2 separate regions of the Homo sapiens genome follow, and region 2 is linked to region 1. Evidence: promoter capture Hi-C in human tissues and cell types (Jung and others, 2019). All regions are on one chromosome and are shown on one strand. The core of a region is centred on a gene start or on the middle of the fragment in contact, and the rest is flanking DNA. Distances in the headings are between cores, read along the strand shown. Region 1 holds the start of C2orf80 (chromosome 2 open reading frame 80). Region 2 has its middle 10 kb from the start of CRYGD.

Region 1 (6,377 bases), core at 1,564-4,063:
CACTGTACTTTTGTGTTTATTTGACACCTTTTATTCCTTCCAAATTTTTCCAACACTTATTTACTTAATTTACTCTTCCTTGCAATAATCTAGCAAGTAAAACCAAAATGGTTTGTGTAATAGCTGATGAGACTATTCGGGCAGAACCATCCAAACTAGATGGATGTGATCCATCTAGATCTGAATGTGTTTGGGTTTTTCTGTGAGCATTCAACTCCCAGTGAGTTCACCCTGGCTCAGTGGCTCATAATGGAGTTTTCCATAGAATCCATCTACACTCTCCTATTGCCAGGAGATCCTTGAAAGAAAATATGGTTATGGGAAATATGTCTTCAATTCCCACCCCCACATTGAACCAGAAATTGAAGATCAGGTGATGGGGTCAAAAGGAGTCTGAAGTCACCAAAAAGGAGTCTATAGAAAATCATCACTATTGAATGGGGTACACAGGGAGAGGTATAAATAGGGTATCAACTCTATTTGTGATGTTTTATTTATTTTTAAATTTATTTTATGGTTGGGCCTCTATGATCAAATAGTTGTTCAAACTTTATCCCGGATGTTTCTGGTGTTTTTTTTTTAATGAGATTATCATTTAAATCAGTGGACTTTGAAAGCAGATTGCCCTCTATCTGAGTGAGCCTTTTCCAATCAGTCGAAAGCCTTGATAGAACAAAAGACTGACCTCCCCCATGCAAGAAGGAATCTGCCAGTAGGCAGCCTTTGGATTCAAACTGCAACTCTTCCCTGAGTCTGCTGGCAGCTGGCCTCCTCTATCAGATTTTGGACTGGCCAAGACTCCACAATCATGTGAGCCAATTCTGTAAAATCAAAATATTTGAAAGAGATGGTTAAGCCTATACTGCACCGTGTGTGTGTGTGTGTGTGTGTGTGTGTGTGTGTGTGTGTGTATCCACACACATCCTGTCAGTTCAATTTCTCTGAGGAACCCTAATACTCAAATATAACAAAATGTTAATAGTTGTTGACTCTGGAATTCTAAGTCCATGGATGTTCATTATACTACCCTTTGTACTTTTAAAATTGTACGTATATTTAAATCACTACTCTAAAGATGATTGGAAAACAAACTTTAGAAACGGTTTTTTGAAAATGGTACCATATAAACACTAAGCTTCACTTGATTCAGCTCTACCAACAGTAAGCAGAGAGCCAACAGGATGGCGCTGATCTAAATGAATGCTTCCCTAGGCCACCTTCATTATTTTGGATTTTTTTTTTTTTTTTGAGACGGAGTCTCGGTCTGTCACCAGGCTGGAGTGCAGTGGCACAATTTCGGTTCACTGCAACCTCTGCCTCCTGGGTTCAAGTGATTCTCCTGCCTCAGCCTCCCAAGTAGCTGGGACTACAGGTGCACGCCACCAAGCCCAGCTAATTGTTTTGTACTTTTAGTAGAGACCGGGTGGTGTCATCATATTGGCCAGGATGGTCTCCATCTCCTGACCTTGTAATCCACCTGCCTCAGCCTCCCAAAGTGCTGGGATTACAGGCGTGAGCCACCGTGCCCAGCCATTTTGGATCATTCTTGCTGCTGCTACATCTGCTTTAGTTTTTGGGGAGTGGACGGGATGTGGATAAGATGAAAGTGGGGAAGAAAGTAAGAGCATTTCACAGGAAATTGATTAAGTATCAAGACAATAATATTGCTCCCTACAGAGTCAATGGGGAGAGGATGCAGCAAGCCATAGAGGTGGCCCTATTGCCTAGAGAAGAGAGAGCACTGGACCCAGGAAAGCCACACTCATTGATGTGGCTGTGCGTCTTCTGCTTCCCAGCCTCAGGTGTTATCCGAAAAAGATGGGCCTGGTTAACATTGCCAAGAGCACTTCTTACCCTAACATTCTGTAACTCTATAAAGTCTGGCATGCATTAAAATTCTTCTGATTCAATAGTTTGGAAAAACATTTGTTGCTAGACTATTTGGCCTATCTCAATTCCTTGGCAGGGAGTAAGGCACAGTTAGCATGTGCTTTAATCCATTCTTGTCTTGTAATTCTGAGAAAGCCCTTTGAGTTTCAGATTTACAAGTTATAATATTTGCATTGCTTCGTTGTTATGACAGCTTCGTCTTAGATCATCCCTCATCCTCCCCATCCCCTGCCCCCACCACCACCATTCAATATGGTATAATATGCAAAGGTTTCAGTCTTTAAAATATGAGTATGTCCCACTCCCAAACCACTAAACTGTAGGTCAGAAGACCCTGTGAGGCCACCAACTAGCTGTGCACCTTGAACAAATTAATTTGCCTATGTTTTTTCATTTCTTCCTCTGTAAAACAAGCGTTGAATGATTGGAGAGGTCCCTTACAGCTGTGGAAGTCAGTGATTTATATGCATTTAGTAGCTACGCCTGGTCTAAAGAAGGCCATTTGCATGGATTCTAATTCAGCTAGATTTGAATTCTGCCAGTTATCCCTCTTCTCTGTCTATAGAGCTCTAAAGAAAACAAGACCGCTGTGTGTTTTGTGTGTGGCTGAAAGCACACACAAAAGAGGTACTGGAAAGATGTCAGCTGTCTCAGGCTTTAGCTGTTTCATAGAAACAATTCCCTAGAAGTCAGAGCCCCCAAATTCTATAGGAATATCATTTCCTGGAGAATATCTGCACATTCCATGCAGGTTCCCTGCTGCACACCTGCAATCGTGGTACAGGTCTCTCGGGCTGTTCTATTAAGTGCCTGCTCTTAACAAATTCCCCTTTGAGAATCGCTCACCAACCGGAGACCGGTTCCAGTGCTTTTGTTCTTTCTCTGCTTCTGGAGGCATGCTGAAGCATCCGCGCATCTCAGACTGGTGCTCACAGACATCAGGAACACATGCTTTTTCCTGGTTGCTAGGAAACAGTGAATGAATTAAAATCATTTGTTTTAAAAATACACTCCCCTACGCCCACCCCCATTAAGGGTTGAGGGAGGGTGGAAAGTCATATATTTGGGACAGGATTGTGATCCTGGCCTGAAGTTCACGTGTCTTTTTACCTGAGTAGGCTTATGTTTCCCATCTAAATGATTAATTGAAAAACCAAGAGGATGGGAGGAGTTTACCTTCCCCAGAGTTTTTTATAGCATTTGGCTGCAGACATAGGAATCAATTGACTAAGCAAGGATTGCTGGGGAAGCTAGTGAAACTCTGGCTCCTACATAGTTAGGGTGCCCCAAAGTACCCAATGACCCAAAGATCATTCTACTCGATGAATGTCAATACAAAACAGTGGCAATCCTGAAGAAACATCACCTGGGTTCAAGCTAGCACCATCTTTCTAATTATAGATGAGATCCCTTTCATGTGCGTCTGTGTGAAGAGACCACCAAACAGGCTTTGTGTGAGCAACATGGCTGTTTATTTCAACTGGGTGCAGGCGGGCTGAGTCCGAAAAGAGAGTCAGCAAAGGGTGGTGGATTATCATTAGTTCTTATAGGTTTTGGGATAGGCGGTGGAGTTAGGAGCAATGTTTTGTGGGCAGGGGGTGGATCTCACAAACTACATGCTCAAGGGTGGGGAGAATTACAAAGAACCTTCTTAAAGGTGGGGGAGATTACAAAGTACCTGCTTAAGCGGGGGGAGATTACAAAGCACATTGATCAGTTAGGGTGGGGAAGAAACAAATCACAATGGTGGAATGTCATCACTTAAGACTATTTTTACTTCTTTTGTGGATCTTCAGTTACTTTAGGCCATCTGGATGTATATGTGCAAGTCACAGGGGATGTGATGGCTTGGCTTGGGCTCAGAGGCCTGACAATCCCTGCCCACACGCCTGCCTCCTAGTCTTAAACACTTGCTCCCTTGCTTAAAGCTTGTTAATGGTTTCTGTCTGTGTCTCCTCTATACCACTAGACTAGGGGCAGAGTTTGTTCTTCTGGCCCATCTACGGCTGGGTGTCTGTTATTGACACCTCTTAATCTTTATTTCCACTCCTTTCCACTGGCCAAGTAAGTCACTTGATTACCTGAGGTCATATTATGAAAGACACTAACAAAACCCTAGATATAGAATTTTCTAAACTAGTTGTTCACTCCATATTGAGTTTATATTGTACCTAGACACTTCCGGGTTTGGTGAGCCTGAAGTTTATACATTATGGGGACCGTCTTTAATAAAAAGAATGCAGAATTGTAAATATGAAACTAATACAAAATTGTATGTTTATTTAGAACTATTAATTACAAGTTACAAATTTTAAAGAGCTGAAAAATACCACAAACAAAAAATCAGTATTAATATTTTCATGATTACTAACTGCCTAACATACACTAAAATTCCTTTTTTTCTTACATACTCTTTGATTATCTGTTAATAGGACCAAGGTTTCATAGTATTTTCTATAGAGAGAATTAAAAAATAATTCAGTCTCTCCTCTACTATGACTGTTTACTTTTATTTATTTATTTATTTATTCATTTTTTTGAGATGGAGTTTTGCTCTTGTTGCCCAGGCTGGAGTGCAATGGTGTGATCTTGGCTCACCACAACCTCCGCCTCCCGGATTCAAGCGATTCTCCTGCCTCAGCCTCTGGAGTAGCTGGGATTACAGGCATGCGCCACCACGCCCGGCTAACTTTGTATTTTTAGTAGAGACAGGGTTTCTCCATGTTGATGAGGCTGGTCTTGAACTCCCGACCTCAGGTGATCTGCCCGCCTCGGCCTCCCAAAGTGCTGGGATTACAGGCGTGAGCCACCGCACCCAGACAATTTTTTATTTTTTAATTAATTTTTTTTTTTGTAGCAATGAGGTCTCACTATGTTGCCCTGGCTGGTCTCAAACTCCTGGGCTCAAATGATCCATCTGCCTTGGCCTCCCAAAGTGCTGGGATGACAGGCATAAGCCACCACGCCCAGCCATTTTCAATTTATTCTAATATTTTGTTTATAATTAAAACTAAACTGTAGGCTGGGTGTGGTAGCTCATGCCTGTCATCCCAGCACTTTAGGAAGCTGAGGTGGGTAGATTGCCTGAGCCTAAGAGTTCAAGATCAGACTGAGCAACATGGCAAAATCCTGTCTCTACAAAAAATGATAAAAACTAGCTGGGCATTGTGGTGTGTCCCTACAGTCCAAGCTACTCAGCAGGCTGAGGTGGGGGGATTGCTTGAACCCAGGAGGCTGAGGCTGTAGTAAGCTGTGATTACACCCCTCCACTCCAGCCTGGGTGAAAGAGTGAGGCCCTGTCTCAAAAACAAACAAACAAACAAACAAACAAACAAACAAACCAAAAAAACAGAAAATAAACTGAGTTATTTTTCTTTTTGACTCCCTATTGTTGATACCTCATTATAAGGTGTTCCACAATTTCTTGATCAAGAGAGCTTTTCACCCAAAGGCAACCTTGGAGAACTTCAACCTTGACCTTGCTAGGCTTGTTCATCCCTGTTAACTCCCTTACCCCTGCCCCCAGCTGAGGCTGCTGCAGCTGGTCCAACTCAGCCAAGTGTTCATCGATCCCAATAGTCACCTTCCCAGCTTCAGTCCTTGAAGGCAAATAGAAGGTCCACGTGTGCAGTGGTCTATCAGGGGCTGGTCATTGCTAAGACTCACATTGATGGAGGTAGTGATGGCAGTGTGCCTATCCCGATGCCATGCCAGTGAGTCAGGAGTTGGGCAGGACTGGTTTTACAAGGTACAGATCACAAAGACCCGGCTGATAAAATGATATGTAGTAAAGAAGCCAGTCAAAACCCGCCAAAACCAGATGGCGATGAAAATGACCTCTAGTTGTCCTCACTGCTCATTATATGCTCATTATAATATATTAATATGCTAAAAGATACTCCCACCAGCACCGTGAAAGTTTACAAATGTCATGGCAACGCCTGGAAGTTACCCTATATGGTCTGAAAGCAGGAGGAATTCCCTCAGTTCCAGGAATTGCCCACCCCTTTCCCAAAAAACTAATGAATAATCCATCCCTTGTTTAGCATATGATTTTTAAAAAACATAAAAATAAACATAAAAAACCCACAAAAACATAAAACATAAAAAAACATAAAAATAGCCAACCAGCAGCTCTGCCTATGGAGTAGCCACCCTTTTATTCCTTTACTTTCACTTTACTCTGTTGGCTTGCTCTTGAATTCCTTAATGTGCGAAGGCAAATATCACAGGGCCTTTGGTGTTCAGCCTGTGACATCCTTTCTGACAACAAATGAAGGGACAATGGAGACCTCCCCCTGAAACCCAGACTAAAACCAATTGGCACCATTCAGACCTGATGGGTGGGTGAGTCTCCCTTTGTCCAATTTCAACTTGCTACTTTTTTTTCCCCTTTGATTTTGGCTCCTCTGTCCTTTCCTATGTTCGTTATTTTAGACAGGTGGGGAAGTGGCTGTGAGACCTCTGGCTTGGTAGCCTGATTGCAG
Region 2 (6,226 bases), core at 2,761-5,260, 75 kb before region 1:
TCGTCTCTACTAAAAATACAAAAATTAGCCAGGTGTGGTGGCGTGTGCCTGTAATCTCAGCTACTCTGGAGGCTGAGAAAGGAGAATTGCCTGAACTCGGGAGGTGGAGGTTGCAGTGAGCCGAGATCACGCCACTGTACTCCAACCTGGACGACAGAGCGAGACTCCATCTCAAAAAAAGAAAAAAAATCTTTTCTGCTTGGAGCTCAGGTTCTAGATCCCCTTCTGAGCCTTCTAATGACATTTTTTCTGTCTCGGTTAAGAGCTGATCAGTAATGTCATTTCCTTCTCAAATCTGACTTTGAGACTTTCTCTCTCTCTCTCTCTCTCTCTATATATATATATACATATATACACACACATATATACATATATATATATGTATGTATCTTCTTTAGGGAAGATTCTCATGAGCAATTCTTTTTGAGGTTTGAGTGACTGCTAGTGAAGTGGATCTTACAGTCTGTAATTAGAAGAGTTGGTACTTGAAATTAGAAATCTAAGTTTTTGGGCTCCAATGCCAGACTGGGTCCTTATCCAGCTATTAAACCCTGTGAGGGGATTTCAGACTTCACAAAAGTGGTTCATTTTCCCGGGACTCTGTCACAGTCAACTTAGGGAATCCCTAACTGTGAAATTTCAGGCTGCTGGGGCTTCATTTAGGTAACAGTGGGCCCTGCAGGAGCTATTGGAATCTCATTGTTGGTTACTGGTTTGCCCAATCAGAAGGCAGGACTTGAGAGACCCTTGATGTTCATAATAATAGTTAATACTCGGGGTTGGGGATTGGCATGTGCCAGGCACCCTCCTTTTACCCTCATTGGAACCCTATAAAGGAACTACTCTCATCAGCCCTTTTTACAGATGACGTAAAAGAAATAGCCACCTAGCCTATGGCCACCTGAGAGCAAGGAATTAATCTGTTGCTGTTTCATCACCTGTGGCATAGACGCTCTGAGCTAATGCCACGCACAACTTATTCCCAGTAGAGGTGAATTTGACTTTAGCAAAATAAAATAAAATGACCAGTTAAAAGCACTGCATCACATACTTTTTCAGTGGGAGGAAACCTTACGCATGTTAATAAAGGAAAAGAGAATATAGTTAGAGCCAGAAAAAAGAAGCCTGCCATCGCATCCCATCGCCTGTCGTGTGAATCATCCACGTGGATCACTGATGCGACTCGAGGGCACGGAAGGGCCCGGGTGGGACTGCACTCACGTGGGGGATGAGGCGGCAGGAGCGGACCGAGTCGCTGAGGCCCATCCACTGCTGGTGGTCGGCATAGTCGCCGCGGCGCAGGAACTACTGGAGGCCCGAGTAGTTGGGCTGCTCATAGAGCACCCAGCAGCCGCTGTCCACGCGCACCGAGTTGCAGCGGCTCAAGTAGGGCTGCAGGTTGGGGTGGTCGCTGCTGCATTCGTAGTGGCGGCCCTGGAAGCCCCGGTCCTCGTAGAGGGTGATCTGCAAGGCAAGGCGAGGCAAGGCGAGGTCTCACAGGCCTGCCCCTGCCCCAGTCTCCGGCCCCCGCCATGCAGGGAGCTACCGGGGGGCACGGGCTGGGCTCACCTTCCCCATGGCTGGCTGGGCGCACGGCGGGGCTGAGCGGGTGGGGCGGCAGCGCGGCGGGGCTATATAGCAGGAGGGCTGCTGTGTTGGCAAGAACCGCACAAAAGGGGCCCCCGGAGGGGAGCAAGGGCATTTTTTTTTCTCTCTCTCTCTGTTCCATATAATGACTGTAGGGGAGGGGGTGGGAGGTTTATTGTATGTTTTCTTTTAGACTCTCTAAAGCTTTCGAATTGATGATCTGGTTAAAACTGTCACTTAGTGCCATTTGGGCCTTTACATAAAGCCTATTTGGGAAATTGGAATTGAGCAAGTGCTTAAGAGTTAGTAATTGTAATTAAATGTTTTATTTACCTTTTAAAAGTTCAGTTTGAGCAACAAAGCAGAATAGCGACCAAGTCTAAGGTCGAAATAGACTACAGCATGAGGCTGTATTGTTTAGATTGGTGTGAAATGTGAAACGTGAGGATGAACTTGCCTTCTCCTCGGGCTGTTTACAGTAGGATGTGATTCTCCTTTAAGAGAACCTCTCTATGATCCTACCTGCTGATAAGCAGGGTATCAGATAACTAATGCAGGAGGTTGGACGCCAGGGGTTGGGCCTGGGGAAGCCCTATTTAGGCACCTGGCCTCAGCTCTGATCCCTGGAGCCTGGGTGGAAGCAGGGAAGTCTTCAGCTTCAGCACCGTGCCTGCCTCAGCACAGGCAATGAAACTCTCAACTGTGGGATTCATGAAGTGACACTTTGGCGGTTATTACACTGGTAACTTTCTATTTAACAACTTTGCTAACTAAAGGCTAAGCTTAGTTGGTTCTAGCTGCTGACAAATGCAAGTTAACATGCAAATATAACACATTGAAGATCCTGCAATCTTGCAAAGATTCTGCCTTCTTCACCCTGGGGCAAAACCCTCGTGGCTCTCTAGTTAAGGCTCTGACTCCAGGGACTGGGGTCTTCCTTCCTTTTGCCGGGACCCTGTCCCTCCTGGTGTTCCACTCTCTTTAGAGCAAGGTTTCTCAACCGCAGCACTCTTTTGACATTTGGGGCCCAAAAAATTATCTGCTGGGTGGGGAGGCTGTCCTGTGCATTGCAGGACATTGAGCAGCATCCTGGCCTCTACCATCTGGGTACCGGTAGCATTACTGTCCGGTCGTGACAAGCAGAACTGTCTGCAGACATTGCCAAAGGTTCCCTGGAAAGCAAATCCACTCCCCATCCGCACTAAGAACCACTGATTTAGAATAACTTTGGTGCACCCAGTCTCACTCCTTAGTTTGGATTCTTGCTACCTAAGTCTAATACTAAAAAATAGCTTTCTCTGGACAAATTTTATGTGATCCACGTAAGTTTAATAAGCCTCATTTACATATTTCTCTTTTAAAAATTATAACTTTTGTGGAAAATTTAGAAACTATAAAGCAGTAGAAAGGAGAAAAGATTTTAAGCCGTAGTTTTGTATAAAAAGTAGCACTGTTGATGTATATTTAAAAACTCCTAATTCTCACACCTGTGATCTAATATTTCCATCTCTAGGAATTTGTCCAATGGAAAAAATTAAAGATGCATACAAAGATTATGAACAGTGATATTTTATCAGAATGGTGTTTATAATATAGAAAATTAGATACAAATAAAATGTCCAGAATAGGGCATTGTTTAAATAAATCATGGAACACTTGTTTGATGAGATGCTATGCAGCTACCAAAAATCATGTTGTCAAAGAATTTATTTAAGGGTATGGAAAATGCTTACCATATGTCAAGTTAAAAAAAAAAACAAGTATATTATACTCTGAAAATTACAAAATATTGAAAGAAATTAAAGAAGACATAAATAAGTGGAAACACATCCTATGTTAATGGATTGGAAGACAATATTGTTAATACATCAGTACTACTCAAAGCAATCTGCAGATTTAGTGCAATCCCTATCAAATCTCAATGATTTCCTTATGCAGAAAGAGAAAAATCTATCCTAAAATTCATCTGGAATCTCAAGGGACCCCAAATCAACAAATTAGTCTTGCAAAAAACAAAGTTGGAAGTTCCTTATTCCTTATTCCTAATAAGGAATGCTGACACATGGCACATATGGAAGAACCTTGAAAACATGTGAAGGGAAATAAATCAGACACAGAGGAACAAATATTGTATGATTCCGTTTATTTGAGGTACCTAGAATAGTCAGTTTCGTAAAGACAGGAAGTGGAATGGCAGTTACCAGGGATTGGGGGAGGTAGGATTGGGGAGTTATGGTTTAATGAATACAGAGTTTCCCTCAAAACTAAAAGTCTTTTAGCACATGTACCACCCCTAGAATTTCTGGTAAACCAGCACCAGCCTGAAGATCACGTTCTCATCAAAGGGTGAAAAAAAAGGAAACTCGAACCAGCCTACGAAGGACCCTTGTGCTGCTAACCACCGAGACTTCTGTTCGTACAGCGAAAAAAGGATGGACTCATCACAACCGAGTCAAGAAAGTGCCACCCTCTCCAGAGTCGTGGGCCATAGTCCCAGGGGAAAACCCTACCAAACTAAGCTAAGAAAAATTTAACTTTTTCATCTATTCTATTACTCTTTCTTCTTTTCTCGCTCTATTACTGACCATCTAGTTATTACCATAACCAAGTCAATTTCACCTCAAACTATTGCATTTAATGCTTTCCTTGTTATACCCTGTGGGTATACCCTGTGGGGACTTGCCAAGTCAAAGACAGCTCTCTACTTCAGAAAAGTACCTCTGTCCCTCCTGACTCTCCTCAGACTGGGCATTAGTAAATTAGGACCATTTAATCTGGGGAAATTTTGATTAAAGACTCCAGTGTCAACCAGGAGTCTTGCCCCTCAATGTAGAGCTTTTATGCCGCAGTTTGTCCAACATTCTGTGGACCACTAAAGAGCAAGGATGGACTGCCCCGACCGGTTTTTGTAATTTCCTAAAATCATATGTTCATTTTACTAGAGGATCATAAAAGTTAAAGACTTAAAACAAACTTTGTCAATTAAGACAGGATACCAAGATGCAAATACCTGGTTGGAATGGATCAAATATTCCATCAGCACGTTAAACAAAAGCAATTGTTATGCTTGTGCGCAGGGCAGGTCAGAGGCCCAGATTGTCCCCTTTCCACTAAGGTGGTCCTCCAGTCGCCCAGGCGTGGACTGCATGGTAGCTCTTTTCCAGGATTCTACAGCCTGGAGTAATAAGTTGTGCCAAGCTCTCTCTGCTATATCCCAAAGTCCAGCACCCTGCAGGTCAGCCCCCAAGGGCCATCCAGTTTCCGTCTCCCAACACTAAGTTCACTTCATGACTCTCACAACAGGGAGGAAACTTAGAGTTCCTTGGAGACCTGAAGGGATGCAGTGAGCTTAAGAATTTTCAAGAGCTTATCAATCAGTCAGCCCTCGTTCATCCCCGAGCGGATGTGTGGTGGTATTGTGGCCGAATAACTGGAGTGGCACTTGTACTTCAGTCCAATTGGCTTGCCTTTCGCCCTGGGATTTTGTCAACCAGAGGGAGGAAAAATAAGACATTGTAAAGCGAGAAAAGCCCCTTATGGGTCTTTCGACTCTCACGTCTATTTAGAAGCAATTGAAGTCCCACGGGGAATACCAGATCAATTTAAAGCTTAAAATCAAATAGCTGCAGGATTTGAGTCAATATTTTGGTGGGTGACGGTTAATAAAAATGTAGATTGGATAAACTACATCTATTACAACCAACAGCAATGAGCTTTTCATGAGTTAAAAGAAAAAACTCATGTTGGCCCCAGCCCTGGGGCTACCTGAACTGGCAAAACCCTTTACACTCTATGTGACAGAAAGAGAAAAAATGGCAGTTGGAGTTTTAACCCAGACTGTGGGGCCCTGGCCAAGGTCAGTGGCCTATCTCTCAAAACAACTGGACAGGGTTTCCAAAGGCTGGCCCCCATGTCTAAGGGCCCTGGCAGCAACGGCCCTGTTAGCACAAGAAGCAGATAAACTAACTCTTGGGCAAAACCTGAATATAAAGGCCCCTCCATGCTGTGGTAACTTTGATGAATACCAAAGGACATCATTGGCTAGCAAATGCTAGATTAACCAAGTGCCAAAGCTTCCTATGTGAAAATCCCCACATAACCATTGAAGTTTGCAACACCCTAAACCCCACCACCTTGCTCCTGGTATCAGAGAGCCCAGCTGAACATAACTGCTACTTGGGCACAAGACAGCTCGTGGGGATACCAGACCCCCATTTACATGCTCAATTGAATCATACGGTTACAAGCTGTCTTAGAAATAATCATTAATAAGACTGACAGAGCCTTGACTATTGTGGCCTGGCAAGAAACTCGGATGAGAAATGCTGTCTATCAAAATAGATTGGCTCTCGACTACTTGCTAGCAGCTAAAGGAGGGGTCTGTGGGAAATTTACCTTACTAATTGCTGTGTACACACAGATGATCAAGGGAAGGTAGTTGAAGACATAGAGATATGACAAAACTGGCACATGTGCCTGTGCAAGTGTGGCATGGATTTGATCCTGGGGCCATGTTTGAAAAATGGTTCTCGGCACTAGGAGAATTTGAAACTCTTATAATAGGAGTTGTGATAGTAATAGGAACGTGCTTACTGCTCCCTTGTTTGTTACCTGTACTTCTTCAAATGATAAAAAGCTT

The links. Contacts are between HindIII fragments. The study calls those that stand out against the background at their distance.
Region 2: a contact is called between a fragment that was not itself captured here and the fragment with the promoter of C2orf80 in region 1, in 3 of the 25 tissues and cell types used here (bladder, mesendoderm cells and sigmoid colon).

The regions. Positions count from the first base shown.
Region 1 is chr2:208,187,217-208,193,593 of GRCh38, forward strand. It overlaps C2orf80 (chromosome 2 open reading frame 80), which reads right to left and starts at 2,814. Exons shown (of 9, transcript NM_001099334.3): 1 at 2,737-2,814. The HindIII fragment of the contact is 5,855 bases long and covers 1-5,700 here.
Region 2 is chr2:208,111,045-208,117,270 of GRCh38, forward strand. It overlaps the pseudogene CRYGEP. Among named protein-coding and RNA genes, the nearest start is that of CRYGD, 10 kb to the right of the region's middle. RefSeq lists an enhancer at 446-1,186. The HindIII fragment of the contact is 3,861 bases long and covers 2,081-5,941 here.